Regions from separate parts of the Homo sapiens genome. Here regions 2 and 3 are each linked to region 1. The links are contacts of gene promoters, found by promoter capture Hi-C in human tissues and cell types (Jung and others, 2019). All regions are on one chromosome and are shown on one strand. Each heading gives the region's core, a stretch centred on a gene start or on the middle of the fragment in contact. The rest is flanking DNA. Distances are from core to core; before and after follow the strand shown. Region 1 holds the start of OLIG1 (oligodendrocyte transcription factor 1). Region 2 overlaps CFAP298-TCP10L (CFAP298-TCP10L readthrough). Region 3 overlaps EPCIP-AS1 (EPCIP antisense RNA 1).

The links. Contacts are between HindIII fragments. The study calls those that stand out against the background at their distance.
Region 2: a contact is called between a fragment that was not itself captured here and the fragment with the promoter of OLIG1 in region 1, in 1 of the 25 tissues and cell types used here (lymphoblastoid cells).
Region 3: a contact is called between a fragment that was not itself captured here and the fragment with the promoter of OLIG1 in region 1, in 2 of the 25 tissues and cell types used here (dorsolateral prefrontal cortex and heart right ventricle).

What each region holds. Positions count from the first base shown.
Region 1 is chr21:33,068,469-33,071,564 of GRCh38, forward strand. OLIG1 (oligodendrocyte transcription factor 1) reads left to right here and starts at 1,673. Exons shown (of 1, transcript NM_138983.3): 1 at 1,673-3,096. The coding sequence starts at 1,779. The coding sequence ends at 2,594. The HindIII fragment of the contact is 10,124 bases long and covers 1-3,096 here.
Region 2 is chr21:32,601,348-32,604,443 of GRCh38, forward strand. CFAP298-TCP10L (CFAP298-TCP10L readthrough) reads right to left here. Exons shown (of 12, transcript NR_146639.2): 4 at 2,778-2,936; 5 at 1,814-1,945. CFAP298 (cilia and flagella associated protein 298) reads right to left here. Exons shown (of 7, transcript NM_021254.4): 4 at 2,778-2,936; 5 at 1,814-1,945; 6 at 925-1,020; 7 at 1-626. The coding sequence ends at 516. Among named protein-coding and RNA genes, the nearest start is that of CFAP298, 9.5 kb to the right of the region's middle. The HindIII fragment of the contact is 3,171 bases long and covers 1-3,061 here.
Region 3 is chr21:32,774,613-32,777,708 of GRCh38, forward strand. All of the region lies in intron 1 of EPCIP-AS1 (EPCIP antisense RNA 1), which reads left to right. Among named protein-coding and RNA genes, the nearest start is that of EPCIP-AS1, 4.1 kb to the left of the region's middle. The HindIII fragment of the contact is 6,384 bases long and covers 1-3,096 here.

The DNA.
Region 1 (3,096 bases), core at 423-2,922:
TGCCAGGAGTTTGTGCATTTAAGGGATGAGCCTCTGAGCTAAGGGAGATTTCAGACCATCTTTAGAGACCTCCAGGACACACAGTAAGTGCCAAGCACTGTGCTAGGCTTCAGGAAGATGGAGAAATGAGCAGGTGGTCCCTACCGTAAAACAATCATAGCCAAATGCAGAGATGGTATCTACATAACACAATAGGCTATGAAGAAATCCTATCAATGGTTTGCCAAGAGTCATGAAAGGAGGAAGAGGAGAAATCACCAAGGCTTCCAGAAGAAAGCAAGGTTGGAGCTGAACCTGAGGCATAGGCAGGATGCTACAGGCAGAGCTGGGGGTCAGAAGCAAAGATCAGAGTGAACCCATGTGGCAAATATTGGTGGAAGAAAACCAGAACAAAGCAGCCCTGAAACCAGCAAGCACAGCCACCAAGATGCCCTCTTCCCCAGGACATTGACAAGTTATAGTAGCATGCACTGGTGCTGGGGGCAGAAAATGTCCATAGACACCAAGTAATGCTATTCTATTTGGCAAATAAAATGATTCATTCCCACCCTCAACCGATAGGACTATGTGGGTGTTTTGTTTTGTTTCTAATAAGAGGCCAATTTCTGAGTGACTTTTGCTTAAGCAAATGTCAAGTTGCTGATAGACCATCCCTTTCGGGGAGGATAGAAACCCGACCCAAAGGCTCCTTTGTCCCTAAAGACCTTTCAATCAGAGGGATGGGGAAGGAGGTTGGGAGCAGCAGGGAGGAAATATCCTAATGCTACTTGTCATTTAGTCCAGAAATTTAGCGACCTGAACCTGGCAGGAAATTATGTATTTTAAGAAAAAAAAAACATGATACACTCATGTTCATAGCAGCATAATTCGCAACAACCAAAAGCACCCCAAATGTCCATCAACGAATGAATGGATAAACCAAATGTGGTATATCCATATACTGGAATATTATTCAGCCTTGAAAAGGAAGAAACTTTGATACATGCTACAACATGGATAAACCTTGACGACAATATGCTAAGTGAAAGAAGCCAGTCACTAAAAGACAAGTGCTGTATGATTCTACTTATATGAGGGACCTAGAGTAGAACAAATTCATAGAGACAGAACAGAAGAGTGAATTCCAGGAACTTGGGTCGGGGGGAGTGGGGAGTTGTTTAATGGGTGGAGCTTCAGGGTTGCAAGTTGAAAAGAGTTCTGGAGATGGGTTGCACAACAATGTGAATTTAATTTAAATCAATTTAATGTGCACACTAATGCATATAACATTACTGAACAGTACTCTAAACATAAGACGGTAAATTTTATGTTATGAATATGTGATCACAGTTAAAAAAAAATATGAGGGAGGTTGTTTTTGAGTAGACAGTTGCTGGAGGAAGGCACGTGAGTTGCAGCCTGACCAGTGCGACCAGTCCTCCTTCAACAGCCCCGCTTGCCTTGAAAAGGCGCCCTTACTCCGCTCAGGGGGCCTGTCCCGCGCGGCTGGCACAGGCGCTCACAATAACCTCCTAAAGCGGTGCCAGCCGCACCTCCGCGCGGCCCCGGCACAAGCAGCCAATGAACACGCGGCTGCGCCCGGCCTCGCGCCTCCATTGGCTGCGCCCCGCCACCCGCTGCCCCGCAGGTTCCCAAGCCGGGTTTAAAGGGGTAGGGCGCGGGCCAGGGCCCCACCATCGTTTCCCCGCGCGCAGGTCCGCGGGGAGGGGCGGCCTGCCGACCGGCCCACCCCAGGGCGTTCCTGAAGGGCGTCCTCGGCCGCCCCCACCGCCTCCCAGATGTACTATGCGGTTTCCCAGGCGCGCGTGAACGCGGTCCCCGGGACCATGCTGCGGCCACAGCGGCCCGGAGACTTGCAGCTCGGGGCCTCCCTCTACGAGCTGGTGGGCTACAGGCAGCCGCCCTCCTCCTCCTCCTCCTCCACCTCCTCCACCTCCTCCACTTCCTCCTCCTCCACGACGGCCCCCCTCCTCCCCAAGGCTGCGCGCGAGAAGCCGGAGGCGCCGGCCGAGCCTCCAGGCCCCGGGCCCGGGTCAGGCGCGCACCCGGGCGGCAGCGCCCGGCCGGACGCCAAGGAGGAGCAGCAGCAGCAGCTGCGGCGCAAGATCAACAGCCGCGAGCGGAAGCGCATGCAGGACCTGAACCTGGCCATGGACGCCCTGCGCGAGGTCATCCTGCCCTACTCAGCGGCGCACTGCCAGGGCGCGCCCGGCCGCAAGCTCTCCAAGATAGCCACGCTGCTGCTCGCCCGCAACTACATCCTACTGCTGGGCAGCTCGCTGCAGGAGCTGCGCCGCGCGCTGGGCGAGGGCGCCGGGCCCGCCGCGCCGCGCCTGCTGCTGGCCGGGCTGCCCCTGCTCGCCGCCGCGCCCGGCTCCGTGCTGCTGGCGCCCGGCGCCGTAGGACCCCCCGACGCGCTGCGCCCCGCCAAGTACCTGTCGCTGGCGCTGGACGAGCCGCCGTGCGGCCAGTTCGCTCTCCCCGGCGGCGGCGCAGGCGGCCCCGGCCTCTGCACCTGCGCCGTGTGCAAGTTCCCGCACCTGGTCCCGGCCAGCCTGGGCCTGGCCGCCGTGCAGGCGCAATTCTCCAAGTGAGGGCGGGCCTGGGCCTGGGGCGCGACCTCGGCCCGGCCTCCCTTCGCTCAGCTTCTCCGCGCCCCTGCTCCCTGCGTCTGGGAGAGCGAGGCCGAGCAAGGAAAGCATTTCGAACCTTCCAGTCCAGAGGAAGGGACTGTCGGGCACCCCCTTCCCCGCCCCCACCCCTGGGACGTTAAAGTGACCAGAGCGGATGTTCGATGGCGCCTCGGGGCAGTTTGGGGTTCTGGGTCGGTTCCAGCGGCTTTAGGCAGAAAGTGCTCGCTCTCACCCAGCACATCTCTCTCCTTGTCCCTGGAGTTGCGCGCTTCGCGGGGCCGATGTAGAACTTAGGGCGCCTTGCCGTGGTTGGCGCGCCCCGGGTGCAGCGAGAGGCCATCCCCGAGCGCTACCTCCCCGGAGCGGAGCACGCCGGCTCCCAGTACTAGGGGCTGCGCTCGAGCAGTGGCGGGGGCGGAGGGGTGGTTCTTTTCCTTCTCCTCCGCCAGAGGCCACGGGCGCC
Region 2 (3,096 bases), core at 226-2,725, 470 kb before region 1:
GTGCAGTGGCAGTGATCTTGGCTCACTGTAAGCTCCACCTCCCGGGTTCACGCCATTCTCCTGCCTCAGCCTCCCGAGTAGCTGGGACTACAGGCGCCTGCCACCATGCCCGGCTAATTTTTTGTATTTTTAGTAGAGACGGGGTTTCACCGTGTTAGCCTGGATGGTCTTGATCTCCTGACCTCGTGATCTGCCTGCCTCGGCCTCCCAAAGTGCTGGGATTACAGGCGTGAGCCACCGCGCCCGGCCAAAAGTTTAGTATTTTATCAAAGAAAACCATGACATACTAAATAGTCCTGAAACAAAAACGATTTACACATTTTCTTCTGACTAGGTATTTATTAAGTTCTAAAACCTTGAATAACTGCTATTTTAAAAATTCACACTAAAAGAAAACTAGAAATGTTAACATCTTTTACAGAGGGCAGTAAGTGGCCTTTTTTTTTTTTTTAAATTATAATTGCCTAGGAGAAAGGTGAGCTAATCTCTTTGGAAGTGTCATCAGCTGGTGAACTTCATCTTGGTCTCCACTTTATGTCTTTCACTCCATGAAAATGTCTTTTCAAAGCAGTGTTATCCGCCCATGGTGAGTTTAAATAGGCATCATCATCATTTTCTTCCAATCTCTGGAAATAAGTATGTTTTATTCAGGCAGGCATTTCAGGAAAGTGTTTTGCACATAAAGAGACTGAAGAAAGAGTCCATGACTGACCTCCCCCTCTCCCTGCCCTCTAGGAGCAGGATACTGCCATGTCTAACACCAGGGGACACCTGGCAGGACCCCGACAGACCTGCAGACAGAAGCTCTAGAAAGACCCCTCCCCGGCATTCTGCAGAGCTCACTGCTCCCCAGCAGCCCCAGGTAAGGCACACAGGCTATGTGTGGGCGCCAGCACTGCAGAAAGCCCATCTGTCCCCTGCTACCTTGAGCTCCTCTTGTCTTCTGTGATAGTACAGCATCAGCTGCTTCTGCTCCTCACTGCTAATAATAGGCTCTCGGGCTGGAGCTCCCTGTCCCCTCTGCAAAGAGGAGAGCAGAGCAAATTGTGGATTAAGGTGTTCTTAGAGTGACAATCCTGAAGTTACAACAAATGTTTTACGATTGCCTTTGCCGGCTACTAAAGATAAACAGGTCCCCCATGTCTGATCACCCGAAGTGAAGCATCAAGGGAAGCCTTGGTCTTGAGCAGCCCTGAGCCCTGGACTCTCACTGTGTGGAGACCAGAGGCTGCACGATACCATCTCTGTCTTGACCATTCCCAAGGCAGACACTGCAGGCAGGTCCAGTGGGAAAGGGAGGATGCTCAGAGCCACGGACTCTGGATCTACATAAGGTGGAGGGCCCCATTTCCCCAAAATCACAGCCTAGTGACGTAGGAGCACCCACAAAACCAAGGCGGCCCCTCAGGTTACAGCGCTACACGATGTCCTTCAAAGGTCTCGAACCTTTCCTCCTCCCCCTCCTGTACACAGCATCAGCAGTTTGAAAAAGCCTGAAATCAGTGACGGGCGAAATTTTACATTTCAAGGAACATATCTGTTTACTTGCAGCCCTATTTTTACGCTTGAAATTAACATAGTATATTTCCTCTCCCCCACATATTAAAACAAACTCTAGATATTGGTACTCAATCCATATTTTCTTCCAGTTTTTGTTGGTGTGCAGGAAGAGGATATTTTTAGTTTAAACCCGAGCCAATAAGATTAAAATATTTGTACCAGTAGTTTAAATCTTTCGGATTCACTGTACATTTTTATCAGTTTGAAGGGAAATAACAAAAACTACTGACACATTAAAGCAAAAAGTACTTACTTGCTGAATCTTGGCGATAATTTTGGTTTTTTCATTCTTCCCCACGTAGTCTGAAAGCTTCTTCGTTCTTCTCAGCTCCTTGGCTGCCCACCACAGCTGCGCCTCTGCCTCTTTAATGACGTTGAGCCCTGCCTGGGGCCAGTCGTAAGAATGGCTTGACTGTGTGTTCCCACCCAGGGGGCAGAGCCCAGCTGAGCCCCTCCCAGCAGGGGGCAGGGGACAGATTTCTCCCCGTGCTCACCATGGGAGGCCTGACTCCCGCACCTCACTCTAAGTCCTTGCTGACTTTAGTACCTTCCCTGTTAAGTTTCCACTCATGCCCTGACTCAGTTAACTTCCTCCTCTGGACAACAGGGAGATCCTATCTCATTTGCACCTTGATCCATATAGTTCGTCTTAGACAGATCTGTAGGCCACTGCCAGGGAAGGGCACTGGCATCGTGCTGGGTGTTTAAATCGAGGTATAAAGGGGCTGCCTGTTTACTTCTGCATATTTCATTTATTTAACATGGCTTAGACAAAGAATATTGTCCAATAGGATAAGAAGTGAGAAAACCCAAGGAAAATGGAACATGAGGGTCAGAAAATAACATGAAGCAACAGGTAAGACTAGAAACACAAATTTCCATGCAAAGGGACTGACGCATTTGGGTAGAAATAGGAAGAAATTAGGTAGCTGGCTTCCTAGCAGCCAAAGACAGTGGAAATGTTTGCAGTCACTCCTGATGAGCGGCCTCACAAACTGCGTCCACTGCCTCCTGTGTGTGGGGCCAAACCCCTCACTCATGAGTACCCACTCTCAGGGGCTGCTCCTGAATTCAGAACTCTGCTCTGAAGCAGGGCATAGCAAACCTGAAAGCTGTGTAGGGAGCAAAACACTACATCCAGAAGAGGGGCATCAAATCTTAAGGGCTTTGGGGGCCAGGAACTCAACCTCCAGAGTACCCACTCACAAACTACGTACCTGTGTTCCCGACAAGTCTTCCTTATTTTCAAACTCCATGCGGATGGGATCATACGGTGGCAACCCCATGGGGTAAACAATCATCACCGCGCCTCGAAGCTGGTCCAAGGCATCTTTCACCATCTCCATGGTAACACAGACACCGGCTTCCACTTGTTTCTGCAAGCAGAAAGCCATCGTTATCTACAGTGTGGCTAATCACTTCCATAAATTCGATCAAGATCTTGTACAAGACCCTTGCCAGATACTGCCAGAGCAACAAAAAGAAATCAAACAGTTCTTGCTCCCAGAGTGACTACCATCTATTTCAGGGGCTGAG
Region 3 (3,096 bases), core at 388-2,887, 290 kb before region 1:
CCCAGTGTAAAAGTGGTGATTGGATATGGATAGAGGGAAGAGTACCTCTCATTTTAAAGTAAGCCACAATACAATCACTTGTCACTTGACGGGGATACATTCTGAGAAATATGCCATTAGGCAATTTCATCACATACTTACACAAACCTAGTGGTGTAGCCTACTACATACCTAGGCTGTATGGCATAGCTTATTGCTTCTAGGCTACAAACCTATACGGCATGTTACTGTACTGAATACTGTAGCACTTGTAACACAATGGTATCTGTATCTAAACATAGAAAAGATACAGTAAAAATACAGCATAAAAGCTTTAAAAATGGTGCACCTGTATAGGACACTTACCAGGAATGGAGCTTACAGGACTGGAGGTTGCTCTGGGTGAGTCAGTGAGTGAGTGGTAAGTGAATATGAAGGCCTAGGTTATTACTGTACACTGCTGTAGATTTTATAAACAACTGTACACTTAGGCTACACTAAATGTTTAAACATATTTCTTTCTTCAATAATAAATAGCTTACTATAACTTTTTTACTTTATAAGCTTTCTTATTTTTTAAAACTTTTTTGTTGTTATTGTTTTGTTTTGTTTTTGTTTTTTGAGATGGAGTCTCACTCTGTCACCCAGTCTGGAGTGCAGTGGCGCGATCTCAGCTCACTGCAACCTCCACCTCCCAGGTTCAAGCAATGAGACAGAGTCTCACTCTATCCCCAGGCTGGAGTGCAGTGGCGTGATCTCAGCTCACTGCAACCTCTGCCTCCCAGGTTCAAGCAATCCTCCCACCTCAGCTTCCCAAGTAGCTGGGATTATAAGCGTGCACCACCATGCCCAGTTAATGTTTGTATTTTTAGTAGAGATGATCCGCACACCCCACAAGCTCCTGTGTTGGCCAGGCTGGTCTTGAACTCCTGACCTCAAGTAATCTGCCCACCTCGGCCTCCCAAAGTTCTGGGATTGCAGGCATGAGCCAACGTGCCCAGACATTTTTTAAAACTTCTTGACTTTTTTTTTTTTTTTTTTGAGACAGAGTTTTGCTCTTGTTGCCCAGGCTGGAGTGCAGTAGTGCAACCTCAGCTCACCGCAACCTCTGCATCCAGGGTTCAAGAAGTTCTCCTGCCTCAGCCTCCTGAGTAGCCGGGATTACAGGCATGCACCACCACGCCCAACTAATTTTGTATTTTTAGTAAAGACAAGGTTTCTCCATGTTGGTCAAGGCAGTCGCAAACTCCCGACCTCAGGTCGTCCACCTGCCTCAGCCTCCCAAAGTATTGGGATTACAGGCGTGAGCCATCGTGCCCGGCATAACACTTTGCTTAAAAAAATACACATTTACAGCTGCACAAAAATATCTTCTATTTTTACCATTTTAATTATTTTGTTTTACTTTTTAAACTTTAAAGCTAAGACACAAACACACACATCAGCCTAGGCCTACGCAAGGTCAGGATTATCAGTGTCACTGTCTTCCACTTCCACATCTTGTCCCACTGGAAGGTCTTCAGGAAAAATAACAAACATGGAGCTATCATGTCCTATAAAAACAATATCTTTTTCTGGAATACCTCCTGAAGGACCTGCCTGAGGCTCTTATATACTTAACTTTTTTTTTTGTAAGTAAAAAGAGTGCGCTCTAAAATAACAGTAAAAAGTATAGTATAGGCGTCCCCAACCACCTCCCACCCCTGCAGGAGGCAAGTGGCCAAAGGTAGACATTGTTCTCTCTCTTTTTTTAAGTTTATTTTTAAAATGTTAGAAGCCACAAAGCCAATAAATATGTAAAAAATATTCTATATACATTAGCTGATGTCTTAGTCCATTTGGGCTGCTACAACAAAATACCATTAATTGGGTGACTTATAAACAACAAATTTATTTCTCACAGCTCTGGATGCTGGGAAATCCAAGGTTAAGGCACTGGCAGATTTGTGTTCCGGTGAGGGTCTGCTTCCTGGTTCATAGATGGTACCTTCTAGCTGAGTCCTCACATGGTGGAAGGGAGACAACTGTGGTTTCTTCAGCTTCTTACCAGGGCACTAATCCCATTCATAAGGGCTCCACCTTTGTGACCTAGTCACATTCCAGCATCTCTACCTCCTCTGCTATCACACTGGGGATTAGTGTTTCAATATATACATTTGGGGGGAAGATAAATAGCTGGGCCTTAACAACTGATGAGGCCTCACTAAATATGCGAGAAATAAGATAAAGCAGGGGTCCCCAACCTCCAGGCCACAGACTGGTACCAGTCAGTGGCCTGTTAGGAACCGAGCTGCACAAGAGGAGGTGAGCGGCGGGTGAGCAAACAAAGCTTCATCTGTATTTGCAGCCACTCTGCATCACTCGCATTACCACCTGAGCTCTGTCTCCTGTCAGATCTGCAGCAGCATTGGATTCTTACAGGAACACGAACCCTATTGTGAACTCTGCACATGAGGGATCTAGCTTGTGCACTCCTTATGAGAATCTAATGCCTGATGACCTGTCACTGTCTCCCATCACCCCCAGATGGGACCATCTGGTTGCAGGAAAACAAGCTGAGGGCTCCAACTGATTCTACATTATGGTGAATTGTATAATTATTTCATTATATATTACAATGTAATTGTAATAGAAATAAAGTACACAGTAAATGTAATGCATTTGAATCATCCTCAAACCATCCTCCACCCCCTAGTTCATGGAAAAATTGTCTTCTATGAAACCAGTCCCTGGTGTCAAAAAGGTTGGGGACTACTGGTATAGCAAATACATAAACCAGTAACATAGTCATTTATTATCATTATGGAGTTTTATGTGGTATATGTAATTGTATGTGCTATACTTTTATACCACTGAAACAGAGGTTTCTTAATACCAGCATCACCACACACATGAGTAATGTATTGTGCTACAGTATTATGATTGCTATGATGTCACTAGATGATAGGAATTTTTCAGCTCCATTGCAATCTTTTTTTTTTTTTTTTTTTGAAACAGAGTGTAGCTCTGTTGCCCAGGCTAGAGTGCAGTGGTGCAATCTCTGCCTCCAAGTTCAAGCGATTCTTGTGCCTCAGCCTCCTGAGGAGCTGGGATTACAGGCACGTGCCACCACACATG